Linked DNA regions of Homo sapiens: all the other regions are linked to region 1. Evidence: promoter capture Hi-C in 16 types of primary human blood cells and fetal thymus (Javierre and others, 2016). All regions are on one chromosome and are shown on one strand. Each heading gives the region's core, a stretch centred on a gene start or on the middle of the fragment in contact. The rest is flanking DNA. Distances are from core to core; before and after follow the strand shown.

Region 1 (4,422 bases), core at 644-3,143:
AGGCTGTTTATTTTGAAGGGAGAAAGACAGAAAGAGAGACCCAAAATAATTCCCTAAATCCCTACCCTCTTTTTTCCTACCCCTCCGACACTGGCTTCTCAGGCTGGGAATGCTATCACTGTATTGTTAAGTGTCTGCGCTGGCCAACAGTGACTGCCACCTGCGACTTGGCTTCACCTCAGGTCAGGACTGGGGTGGGAAGATCTATACAGATCATATCCTTGTCTTTTTCAAATCCACATTCATAGCTATAAAAGGATCAGTCTGTACTTCATACCCTTGACAAGTTCTTAAGGTAGTGAAAGACAATTTGCAGGGATTTGGCTGGCTTTACTCCCAAGGCAAGTCGGTGCTAAATGCAGAGGGATCCTGACTGAGCATCATTCTGGCACTTCTAAGGAGGTGAGGCTCAGGAGGGAGCAAGTGAAGAAGCGCAAGAGGCCGCTCGTCTGGGAACACTTCATCCACTGCCTCCAGGCCCCAGCCTGTTGGCTGGACGCCCTTAGGAAATGCATTCGGCCTGCTATGTGGAATTACTTTACCCTGACTATAACTAGAAGAACATATAATTTGGACATGAAGATTTTTCAGGAAAATGTATAAAATAATTATTAGCAATAAGAGGGTCTTTGAAAGAAGATAAATAATTTATCAATTTAGCTTGTACAAAAGCAAGCCATTAAGTATGAATAATCAATGCCAGGGTGTGGCAAAGGCTAGGGTGGAGGGTTACATTTGTCCCTGGGAGCCTGTCCAGGCTGCCAAAATGTTGGGTTTTGCACATTTTAATGAGGTGGCAGCCCAAATGCATTCTTTCTGTTTAACTTGGCTGAAATCTGCTCACTTCTAAGTCTAAATCCAGTTCAGCAAAAGAAACTAAGACTTCTCAGTACATTGATATCATGACTTTTTACAGTGACCTAATGGTTTATCATAAAAGACAAAACGAAAAGCTGAAATCCATTATCAGCCTGAAACACTAAAACATGAAGAAAAAGTAACCAACATTTTTAAGTTTCATATTTTAAAAAATGAACTATGGTGAATAATAACATTTTAGATACATACCATTATGCCAGGCAGTATTTTAGCTATGGATTAAATCTTCAGGATAGCCTTACAACATAAATTCTACTATTATCCCCATTTTACAGATGAGACAAACTGCCAAATCAGAGCACAAAGTGCAACTGTGCTTAAGGTCTGGAAGTAGCACACTGGACTCTGGAGTTCGGCTCTAAACTGCCAGACTATGAGCATTTTAAAGTGTAACTTTGGCAATGTGTCATTTGCTATCTGGGAAAAATACAACCCAGTAGATAGAGAAGCATGGGTAAAAATAAGGTACTTCTGGGAAGCCTGTTACTTATCCAAGGTGTACAGATGCCACCTACCTCCAAGACTCGAAAGCGCTGGTAGATGTAATGCACCATGGCTGGGTCCTGGGTACACTGCGGCGGGGGCAGAAAAGCTGCAAGGAACAGAACCAGCAATGCAGAAGCTCCTCGAAGGGCCACCATCATCCTGCAAAACACCAAGCAGGGCAGTCTCTTATGCTGTGGCTCTTCTCAAGGATGTCTCAAGGGCTCCGGTGGTGCTCTCCTGCTCTATCCGCTGCTGTGGCAAATCCTCTAAAAACAGCGTTTTGCACAGCAGAGAGCAAAGTCCGCTTGTTATTCCACCCGATACGTGAGCTCAGTTTGCCAGCTAGTGATCAAGTCCAGCTGTTGGCAAGTTGGTCCCTGAGGCCTTGTAGACTGACCTGTGGCAGAGAGCTCCCTGGGTCCAGCATCTGTTGCCCTCACCCTTGACACATGCGGACCCTCCCCAGGCTAGTGGTTGCAAGCTGCTTCCTGGCTTAATTGTGTGTGCATTGGGGTGGGGGGTGAAGATGGCTTCCCCCCGTTCCCTTCCCCCAGCTATTTCCTTTTTACTTTTGCTTTCCTCCTCCCTAGTGGATTCTGCAGTCCAATCGCAGGCCTTCCCCAACACAAACCACCCCCAACTTTTTAAAGTTGGACTCTCAGTTTAGTTTCTGGCAAAAATTCCCAGGATCCTTTTCCAGAAGTCCTATTGGGAGACCCCACCCCTCATCCAGACTCCCTTCACATTCCTGCAGCTCTTAAAGGCACAGCCAGGAAAAATAAACATGGATCTACCACTATCTCTGAACAGCCAGTGCACAGGGCTACATCGCCCCTTGGGCAGAAAGGTACAATGGGCTACAGGCCTGGCCATCCAGGCTGTCAGCTGAAACATCTCAGGATGGAGCTGAGAATAATTTGATTAAGAGGAACAACAACAATCATTGATACAGTGATGCTTCCAGGGTCAAGCCATCAAAAAGTGAAACGCCTTTGTAAGGAAATCCTTGAGTTTTCTCAATCACTGGAGGCAGAATTCCCTTCATGTAGCTGCAGGCCAGAAATATGTAGGACTAAACTCCTGCAGGCCCTGGTCCAATTGAAGATAAATTATAACCCTAGGACAAGGTGGTAAAATCTTTGAATTTGTCTGTGCAGTCCAGCCCTCTTCTTATCTCAACCTGCCTTTCCATGGGAAAGGCCAGGACGCCTTGGGGTTCTTTCTCAATCACCTGCCAAACTGAGAAAGGCTGGGGCATCTATGGAATGTGAAAAGAATGCTCTCCAGGAGTCAGAAGGCCTGTGTTTCCATTTGGTCCTCACAAGAGACGCTAATAGATACCTTTATCAAAACATTTCACGTACCCCATAAACACCTACTATGTATCCACAAAATTTTTTTAAAAGAGACACATAGACTGAGAATTTTCCACTGGTGGTCCTTAAACTTCCTTATGCCCGGTAATATTTCTCCCCACCCTTCTTCCATATGGCCACAGCTCCTAACTATTCCTCCTCACCCTCTCGGTAAAAATCCCAAACAGTAGTTCATCATCCTTAGAAACAATTCCTCATATTTCTTAGAACCATCTTTGCACTATTCCCTAAACCAGTTGAACTTCAGCTGACCCTGCCTCCTAAATCCTTATTAAAAATTCTGTCTGGCTCACGCTGCTTCTCCAAGTGAGAATATTCTCTCTGAAATTACTCATGCCTAGCATTTTTGAATAAAGTCTTAAGGGTGCTCTAGTTGATTTACTTCCACAAATGCCTCAAGTCCTAACTCTGAGACTGTGAACTAAGATGGATAAGGTCCAGTGGAGGAAAACTCTGATTGTATCTAATTAACTTTTCGGTGGTGGTGGTGTGGGTAGTTCTTTCCTGGGTTTTCTAGAGCATGCTTACATTACTTTTTCAATGAAATACACATGCCATACTTACAGAGTCTAAAGAATTACTGGAGAGTCTGTAAGGGGGAAATGCAGTGGGAAGCCTCGGTTGCAGCAGAAGTCCTTGAGGTGCTTTCAGGGCTGCTGTTGCTCTTATCTCTGTGGAGTGGGCTCCAAAGAGGTTGGCTCAGGACTGGCAGGCACCATCTCTGCCCACCAGTGATTCAGGCCCAGCACCACTTTCTCTGCGGTCACCACCTTCTTCAGAGGGACACTCCTGGCCTCTCAGCTCTGACTGCCCACACCTGGTCTTAACTGGAGAGCTTCATTTACTTTTTGTAATCCCAAACAGGGACAGCAAATCTCACAGCTGGAACCCATAACCCATTAGGATTGATGACCCATAGTTCAGAACCAGAGTGGAAACTCTCATATTCTCGTGACCAGAGGTTTCATAAAGAAAAACCAAACTCACTTTGGAGACAGACCCAGCCTTGACTCGCAGTGGCCTACTGAAGCCATCTTTATTAGAACAGTCCCTCCTCAGTGGGTGCCGGGTGGATAAGGGTGAAAAAGATGGCCTGCCGCACCTAGACCTGCAGCTGGACGAAATCAGTTAGCTCCACTGTCTTCATTACACGTAACCTCTGGCCTTGACCGTTGCTATTACTAGCCAGGACAGTGGACAAGCACAGTGACTTCTCTTTTCTCCTCTGCAAGTGTCTGATCCTTCCGCTTTTCTACCCCGGTATCCTGAGAGGGGAAATAAGCTCCTTTATATCCACCACTATTTCCTCTGTGTGGTTGGATCCAGGTGACTGGTCCTTAATCTATAAGCCAGGCCTGAGCTGACTGTTTTCTCTAAATGAGAAGGAGCCGGATATATCAATTCTCTCATCCCAGTTAGCCCCCTGAAGCTGATCACATCCAGATCTCCAGTTCCTTTTGGAAATTTTTGCTGCCTTCATCCCTCTTGGCTCCATTTGCTGCTGTGCCTCCACGTTAACCGACCTTCTGATATCTAGAGCCTTCTCTGCTTCCAGTACTCCCTCACTTTGCTGAGAGATGCTAGTCAACTCCAGCAAAGTCTGGAGGAGACTTTGCCTTTTTGAGGATGCAGAACCCCAGTCAACAGAATCCCTTCTGGGATATTGGAATTCGTCATTTAG
Region 2 (4,422 bases), core at 791-3,290, 210 kb before region 1:
AGATGGGAAATTGAACAATTGAGAGGAGTTGGGATTGGTGGTATCTGAAATATCACGTGAAGTCAGATGTTAATGGCAGAAACAAGATCACACAGGTTTTATGAATGAGTGGGAAAAGATGATACAGAGGCAGTTGGTATAGATTTCTTTCTAAAAGTTCATCAAACCTAAACAGATTTGGGGCAAAAATTTCAGCAGAATTAAGGAAAATTTGTTAGTGGTGGAGGATAAAATTTAGGTTGTGAGCATGTTTCCAGGTGGAGGAAGAAGAGGAAATTTAGTTGAAAATCTGAAAATGCCAGAGCCAGAAGTGATTGAAAAATATCTCTTCAATAAGTAAAGTTTGAGTGTCGTGCATCAGTGAAGCGATGCTCTCATACTCTGCCAGTGACAGCATCATTTTGCAGAACTCGTGTAAGATAGTAATTTGGAAACTGGTGTTAAAAGTCATAGGAATATGCTCACCATTTGACTTGGAGAGAAAAGGGCCCCTTCCCAGAAAGTATCCCAGTAAGGGTTTAATAAATGTTTGAATGAATCCTATTTCTGATACAGGTCCCCCTCCCCACGCCTACCTTTACCATTAGTAATTATTTGCCTCCAGTTTTGTTTTATCCACACAATCCTTTCTGTTTCTTGCTCAGAGTCTGGGTCCCATTGAATCCCCATCAACTGTGTGTTAAAATTAGAGTTCCTATTTCATCAGCCCTCTCTCCCACCACTCTTCACTTCAAATTCAATTGGCTAGTGCTCACCAAACTGCTCCAAGATCACTCTTTATTGTTTCTTTGTTTCTCCTTCACACTGTTCCTTCTATCTAGATAGTTCCCCTCCCTTTTCCTGAAACAAAACAAGTGCCCCATGCAGGGAATGATACAAGAGAAGAAAAAAAGTAAATGCCTAAAGATATTCACTGCCAAGTTTTTAAGATAGCAAAAAATACAGGTCTCAAGGATAGAGATAAATGAAATATTATGCTGCCAATAAGCATCACAATTATAGAAACTATGAGAAAAGGTTTGTCATGATTTATTCTTGGTGACCCTAGGTTGATTCCAGGTGATCAACTTTCTTTTCTAGGTCATTACTCATCATAGCTTAATAATCTACTCAAGAATTTTGCTGAGGTTTACATTTAAGCTTAGTATCCAAAATCAGCTCTCTCTAACTCATACAAGGATTTCCTTTTTCATGCACATTCATGAGGCTCACTACATTTGACTCCGAGCCCACTTATGCAAATGCTTTCAGTAGCTCAGATGATACTTTGTTTTATATCAGCAATTAGACTCACTTACATCTGTGCCTTCTCAGAATTTTGCAGTGAGGCATGGAAATATAGTGGCAACAGGACAAAGCAGGTGAGAAGAGGAGCCAGCTATATCCCGCTGGGTAGAAAGACACGGTCTCCAAGGGGCACAACAAATTTCAGTCTTGATTCAGGAGAACTAGAGGTTCAAGATGAAACATCAGGAACCAGGTGAACAACACTAAGATGTCCAGAGAAGCAGTTTTGTGTATATGCAATTAGTTGAGTTGAGTGCCTAGTTGCTTCCAAGGAAAAAAATCCCCATGCGGTAGCTCTCCTAATCTCTTAGAGATGTTAGGAAGCTAAAATATTTGCACAGTTTCCTGCCCTTTGATTCAGGCCATATTTGGTAGCTATTTCAAAAAGTTAGAGCCTGTGATATAGAATCCTTCCCTTGGTAATCTGACCCACTCCTGAATACCCCATTAACTTTCTTATCTAAGGTCTTACTCCAGAACAAGTTGAGCAATCCAAATTTCTCTGCTGAATCAAAGTCAGGTAATTCATTCAGATTGTTTACTCTGGATGTAACTTCGTGTCTTCTCAGCTTTCATTTCAGAGTCTGGAAATAGAAGAAAGTGGAGACTGCACTTCCGACTATGTGACAGTGCACAGCGATGTAGAAAGGAAGAAGGAAATAGGTTTGTGTCCTCTGAGCCTCAGCTCGCTCTGGTTTGTGTTTGGACCCAGTCTTGAGATGGGAACGAAAAGGAGACAGATCAATCTTCCTCCATCTTCCTGCACCACCTCCACCCCTCCCTGTGGTCTCACCATCACTCCTTTGTCTTCTTCATTAGGGGCAGGAAGAGAAAAAGGGAGAATCAAAGAACCACTGAAACAGAAATGCAAAAGGCCCATGAGGAAACTAGGAGTCAGAAAGGGAAAGTTCCATTGAAACAAGTCCTGAGGCTAGAACCAGTTCCCTTAACATCATTGTGTGTGGGAGTGTTCAGGAGAGAAAACCAAATTGAAATGTCATGGGGTTAATTAAGGAGTGAGCTGCCTTTATTTAGAAAATGAATTGTGAAAAGCGTATTTCTCAACAATTACCTGAAGGATGATTTTCTTTTTTTCTTCTCTCCAATGCCATGGCTATCTGCTGGGTGCTTGACAATGTCATGCCTGGGCTGGCCTTCAACAAGCTCGGCTGTGTGGCTATGATGTCCCCACCCCTGTGCTGAGCCCCTCCAGCATCATGCTCATCAGCTTCCAATCAGATGAAAACGGGACCTGCAGGGGCTTTCAGGCTACAGTCTCCTTCATTCCTAAAGCAGGTAAGAAGATAGAGTTACCAACTCTTTGGTTCCCAGTTCTAATCCTTGTGATGTGAATTAGAGGTCTTTAGAGCCCAACACAGAGACAGTCGATTCTCACTATCTGCAGTAATTACATCCTATCAAGTCACCATGGACACTGAATAAGAGAATACTCAGCCATCCCTCCTAGGAAATGTACAAGGTTAGGTGCCTTCAAGGTACATTTTCATCAGCTGATCAGTACATAAACTTGTTTTATGTGTGTTTCTGTTTAAAGATATGTTATTTAATATATATTGCTGGTTCATTACAATGAATTCACGGCCATTAAATTCATGGCCAACAGCACTATGACTCATGTCTGAACAAAGCTTATCTAACACGTGTGTTTTCTATGTGAGGCACACCACAGAGTTTTGCACTTAGGAACACTAGACGGCACTTCAGCACTATGCTTGGGGCCATTTTAAAGGTTGAGGTCACCAATAAAAAGAACAGAAATGAAAAAAAAGTGCCACTAAATAGACCATGAAAAGGACATTTGTTTATAGGATGACGGCTGAAGCAAGAAGGCAAAATATTGCCTTGTTTTACCTCGTGTGGAAACGTGTGTCTAACAACATGTATTTTTTGTCACTCTTCACATGCCTATGAATGATCCTGAGGACAACATGAGTATCACTTTTGGAGCTATAAATAATTTTTAGTGAGTAGGTGAATTCACGTATAGGGAGTTCACAAAGAACGAGTGACTGTATGTCTGAATCCTGATGGCCAATCATTACTAGATGTGTAATCTTAAGAGTCACCTCAGACTCATTTTTTTCAACCCTACTAAGGGAAAACAATGCATCCCTAATAAGAATGTAGTGAGGATTAAATCAGATAAGATACACTTGGCCACAAGCAAGTGTGCAGTACATAACAGAGACATAGAAACATGAAATATCTTCACCAGTTCCAGGCCCTGGACATTCGAACTACCTAACCAGCTTCCTTACACATTCTCATACCCATGATTCTTCTTTCCAAACCCCACAAAGCCAATTATCTGCTTTCCAAGTTGTTCATTCTTTTTAGGTATTAAGCAGCTGCAGATGGCAAAGCCAGGTTATAGTTAAAATGCCCCACTCCTCATTTGAAATACCTATAGAGTCTAGCTGGCTGAGGTGCCCCAGAATTCTAACAATAGCTTCATAAATCATTTTCTGATAAATCTCCAACCCTGGCTGTCTTTGTGGAAACTGAGTAATTGTATCATACTTATACCCAGTATACCCAGATTTAAACATCTCCATATCAGAGGATGAATCAATGTTTCTGGAGACATGAGATGTGCCAAATGGAGAAACCAATGTTTCTGGTAAGCTGTTTTGGGGACCAATTGATACACACAGAGTATAATCCAGGGTTCAACCGGAGAAGCAGGTGATATGGATTTAATTCCATCTTCCTCCAAAATATACTAGAGTCCTAACCTCCAGTACCCCAGAATGTGACCTTATTTAGAGATAGGGTTGTTACAGAGTTAATCAGTTAAAATGAGGTTATTAGCCTGGGCCCTAATCCAGTATGACTAGTGTCCTTATTAAAAGGAGAAAATTGGAAGCAGAGAGACATACACACACAGGGAGAATATCGTGTAATGATGAAGGCAGAGGTTGGGGCAATACATTATCTACAGGCCAAGGGGCACCAGTGACTGTCAGTAAACCACCAGAAGCTAGAGGAGAGGCTTGGGGCAGACTCCTCGTCACAGCCCTCAGACAGAGCCATCCCTGCTGACACGTTGATCTTGGACTTCTAGCCTCCAGAACTATGAGACAATAAATTTCTGTTGTTCTAAGCCACCTAGTT
Region 3 (4,422 bases), core at 420-2,919, 160 kb before region 1:
CACAGACCAGCAGAGAACTGGGACCTCTTTGGTGAGGCTGTCTCTCAGGATCTTCTCTGGATGACATCCAAGCCACCACACTTCCTCATTTCCCCTCTGGCTTTGCCACTGACAGATCTGAGTAGTGATAGGGATCCTATTGCAGCAAGTGGGAAGCTGCATTTTTACGGCTTCCCCGTCCCTTCCTCAGCCCTGCTGTTCCCTCGCCTTGTAAGCGTTGGTCTCCATGCAACCCATCGACCTAGAATCCTCAAGTCTCATGCCAAGGAGGTGCTGCCAGAAGGCATCTTGCTTCCATGAGGTATATTAATTCTCAAGGACAAGTTATCAAAATACTTTGAGACATCAAATTATGCAAGACCTCCAGATGAAGTACCTATTTTTTTTCGTTAGCTTTTGTGCCTTGTCCTTAATAAATAAGTTTCTGAATATCCCATTTGCACCAAGGCAGGTGGGCTAGGCCAGAGAGCCACTCACAATGAGGCCTCCATGGACTCCACTCCCTCGAAGATTGGGTGCATACTCTGCCAGGTCCACAGATCGTAACCACTCCATCACCCTGTGGTTGGACCACTGTACAACTTCTGAAGGAGAAAGGTTACTCTGTCAGAGGGAGAAGGAGAGTGAGGAAGTTAGGCTTAATAGGTCCCACCATGGTCCTCTGTGGAGTCAGCCCCGGTAAGTAACCCTGCCCCAGACGCATCACAACAATAGAAGGCCCTCAAGCTTAGTGACCCACCCCATCTGCCAGAGCACCAGCCTCCCCAGTTTCTAGGAAATAGAGCTCCCACTGAATCTTTGAAGATCTTCCACACTGAGATATCTGAATCCAGAATTCTGTTACTCCATCATTTTCCAGCTAACTTTGAGACAAATAAATGAGGACATTATAGTTATTCTTTCAGTGATTCAACAGAACTTTAAAGATGACTGTCAATTTTACAATCCAAGTGGTTTATAGATGAAAGATCTCCCTGGTGTGGCCAATGATTTTAGGGGAGCACACCTTAAGGTACTTATTCCTAAGTGCTCTCACGTAGCACTGTGGTCTTAAAAATGCACAGCGCTGTGCCTGACATATACAAGACATTCAAAACATGTTGGTTGAATAAGGAGAAAATAGGAGATAGACAGCAAAGGTAGCAGCCCAGGAAGCTGAGTTAATTTTACAGCAAGGTTAGACCTAGTTCCCAGGAACAGAGGAGATAGGATGTGACTGACAATCTTCAGTTTGGGGGTCCACCAAGAACTCCGAAGTTCATGGAACATAATCAGTTATTTCTTCAAGACTTGGGGTGCTGTTATTTACGTATACTATTTCTTCTCTAGCAAGACTACTCATGGATCCCCTGTACCTGGGCCTGGAAGTCAGTTAATTTTGGATCTACAAGTAGGGATACCTATTCTGAAATGTCTAGCTTCTACGGGCTCCTCTTCCCCCTCCTCTGTCTCTTCTCTTCTCTTCTACTGTGACACCCATCTTTCCATTTTGTCTTTCCCTCCCCCTCTCCTTTGCACCATCTCCTCATCTCCTTTAATCACTATGATGACTTTATAGCATGTGTCTCCCCAGTGGAGGGTGGGAGCTTAGAGGTCTATGGCTACTGTGAGACACAAAGTGCAGGTAACGGATGTTTGGGGCAACAGGAAGCACAAGCAAACAAAAGAATCCCAGGCACCATGGTGCAAAAAACAGTGCTTTTATGATGTCATTCTTGTTTGCTCATGCTCGATGTTTCAGGGGTCCTGGCTCAGGGCTACCTGGAGAGATACTATTTGTGGTCTCACCTCATCAGCTGGCCGCCGGTGCAGGCAGTGGGGGTTGAACTTGTTGACATGCAGCACGTGAATGGCACATTTGATGCTGAGATGATGTAGTTGGCTGGTGACTTTTAAGAAGAGTAAATCGTTCTGAAAGAGGAAAGTTTGGTTTATAAACCAGAGTTTCCAAAGTGACAAAAGACCCCTGATGTCCCTCACCAGACCAAGCATAGACAAGTCAACCACATCTCAGGAAGGTGCACGTGGAGACACCAATAGCTTATCACAGTGGTTTGTACTCTGCTACTTGGGACCTCTTTTGTGACAAATGATACTATTTCAAGGCCTTAAGAATATATGGAATCAAGTTTAAAATAACCACCATGGGTACACGTGAGCTGAGTGCTCACAGGGACAACTGAAATATTTAAAGAAAAAGTCCTCACCACAGTTAGGTATTGCAGCATTCGTCTGTCAACTCTAGATTCATGAAACTGGTCTTTGTACTGGGGTAAGCCAATATCATCAAGCCACCCTACAAATACAAAAACCCCAGATGTGTCAGGATTCATGAGAATGAGAGAATGTAGACACCAAAAAAAGGGGAGCAAATTATATTTTGAGGTTCGTTTTATTCCCCCAAAAGTTTAGTAATTCCTCTGCTTTTTACAAGGAGACAGCTGTCCTTGAGGTACCCATTTAACAGGAAAATTCTTTCTACTCTTAGTTGCTGCCAGAGACATTCTTAATACATATATGCCTATCCTTACTTGTCACCCAAATGTGGTCTAGCAGTGCAGACTTCTCCTCCTGTTTGGTGTTGATGGCTTTCACTGCTAAAACAAGCTTCTTCCTGTGGAGTGGGTGCTTAATTCCTAGCTCCTGAAATTAAAAGATGAAGACCACATGTGAAATTTTGGCAGGCAATTTGGCCCTCAGAGAAAGCTGTGTCTGGGTGGAGATGCTCTGAGTATGGCAGTGTATCTCCACACCGTGCCCTGGGATGCCAACCTGCAGCTACAGAGGAACTCTCAGCCTCCTCCATCCATCCTCCTGTGTGTATGTGTGACAGGAGTGGCGGACCCTGGCCTCCCCATGCTTTGGGGAGAAATGGGAGCCTCCTCTCCCCAAGCTGAGCCCTTACCTTTTCCATGTCCTGAGGGGTGGCTGTCAATAAGGTGTGGCCAGAAGATACCCACTGCCTGGCAAAGATCACATACTGAGCCAGGCCAAAGTCCTCCAGCCATGCACACACACGCTCTGTGCTCCACTGGGCAAAGGGGGCATTGGCGTCACTGGGAAGCAGGAAAACAGCATATTCCTGTTAGTGGGAGAGCCTGAGGTTCTGAATCTAATCATGTCTCACAAACAAAAGAAAAGAAAAGAAAAAACAAAACAAAAAACCTGTTTTTTAACAAACAACCTCCATCATGGGATTCTGCTGAACAAAATTCCACTACAACACACTCATAGGAGGTAGACCCTAGAGTTTTCTTAATAACACAAGATCTGAATTTCAAATCTCAGGCTACTTAGAGAATGGGGCAGCCTGTATGGCCCTCCTGAGATCATGTTCACATGTCCTAGGTCCGCATACACACATATACATGCCACAAGTCCAGAGCTGTGGCCTCATTAGGCGGAATCATCTTTTTAGGAAAATGCTTAGAAAACTACTTTTCTTAGCATTTAAGAGGGTCAGTTCTCTTAACATTAAAAAGAAAAAAAACAAAACACCCAAAACTAAAAGCAAAAACTTGCCAATCAACAACAGCTAGCACATTACTTATTAACAAAACAGGAGGAACATTCACATTAAAGTCAATAAAAGGACAATATATTTTTCATCAGTACTAACAACACTGGTCTGAGAGTCATAGCCAGTATTAGAGATAAATAAGAACAAGAAGTATAGCTATTAGGCAGAAATAAAGCCATTCTTTACAGATGTCAGGACTGCCCATTTAGAAAACCCAAGAAAGCTCAGTGAGGTGGCCACTTACGAAATACACATATAAACATATGTAACGTATGTTACATACAAAGATCAATAATTTTCTAATACCATCAATGCACAGATACTAATGCTACTGTTAAAACAATTTAAAAATCCCACTCATAGCAACCAACATTATAAAACGTCTAGGAATTGCCTTAACAAGAGATGTTTGGCCTTGTGTGATTATGTGTGGGGATTGCGGGGGTGGGGAGAGGTATTGACTGCAGCAGTCAACTGAGCTAGATAAAAAAGGACATGAATAAATGAAAAGCTAGATTATGTTCCTAGACAGGATGACTGGGTTTTATAAAGCCATCAATTCTTAAAGACATCCATTTTTCATTTAAAGTGTGAATAGCACACTAAAAATCCCAATAGAGTCATTTTTTTAGGGGGGATTCGACAGAGCAACTTTATGTTCATAAATGAGGATTTATAGAATATCGTAGATATTCCTTCAAAGACCAGAAAGATTCCTTCAAAGTACCCCTAACATATTAGATTAAAACATATTTTTTTAAATGCCTGGTTGAGCTGTTGTTAAAGTGAGGGAATTCCTCAAAGGATAAGCATGATAAGAATGCCCCATTTTAGATCAAATGTTAGAGATAATGTATACCCTGGGGCAGGGACTGATCAATCATAATCTGGAACCTGGGCTT

The links. Contacts are between HindIII fragments. The CHiCAGO score rates a contact against its expected background, and 5 or more counts as called.
Region 2: a fragment that was not itself captured here is called in contact with the fragment with the promoter of OLFML1 in region 1 in 4 of 17 cell types (monocytes, non-activated CD4 T cells, naive CD8 T cells and 1 more); the score reaches 6.0 in monocytes.
Region 3: a contact is called between a fragment that was not itself captured here and the fragment with the promoter of OLFML1 in region 1, in 2 of 17 cell types (monocytes and naive CD4 T cells). The highest score is 5.9, in monocytes.

The regions. Positions count from the first base shown.
Region 1 is chr11:7,482,977-7,487,398 of GRCh38, reverse strand. It overlaps OLFML1 (olfactomedin like 1), which reads right to left and starts at 1,893. Exons shown (of 3, transcript NM_198474.4): 1 at 1,395-1,893. The coding sequence starts at 1,523. RefSeq lists an enhancer at 1,712-2,216. The HindIII fragment of the contact is 6,703 bases long and covers 1-4,422 here.
Region 2 is chr11:7,689,430-7,693,851 of GRCh38, reverse strand. OVCH2 (ovochymase 2) reads left to right here. Exons shown (of 16, transcript NM_198185.7): 13 at 1,857-1,950; 14 at 2,452-2,583; 15 at 3,839-3,928; 16 at 4,250-4,415. The coding sequence ends at 3,897. LOC105376533 (a long non-coding RNA gene) reads right to left here. Exons shown (of 11, transcript XR_007062576.1): 3 at 2,360-2,574; 4 at 1,299-1,871. Among named protein-coding and RNA genes, the nearest start is that of OVCH2, 15 kb to the left of the region's middle. RefSeq lists an enhancer at 1,639-2,838. The HindIII fragment of the contact is 1,796 bases long and covers 1,143-2,938 here.
Region 3 is chr11:7,647,021-7,651,442 of GRCh38, reverse strand. It overlaps PPFIBP2 (PPFIB scaffold protein 2), which reads right to left. Exons shown (of 24, transcript NM_003621.5): 18 at 2,906-3,056; 19 at 2,532-2,643; 20 at 2,208-2,296; 21 at 1,789-1,911; 22 at 478-603. Among named protein-coding and RNA genes, the nearest start is that of CYB5R2, 24 kb to the left of the region's middle. RefSeq lists an enhancer at 1-570. The HindIII fragment of the contact is 1,881 bases long and covers 729-2,609 here.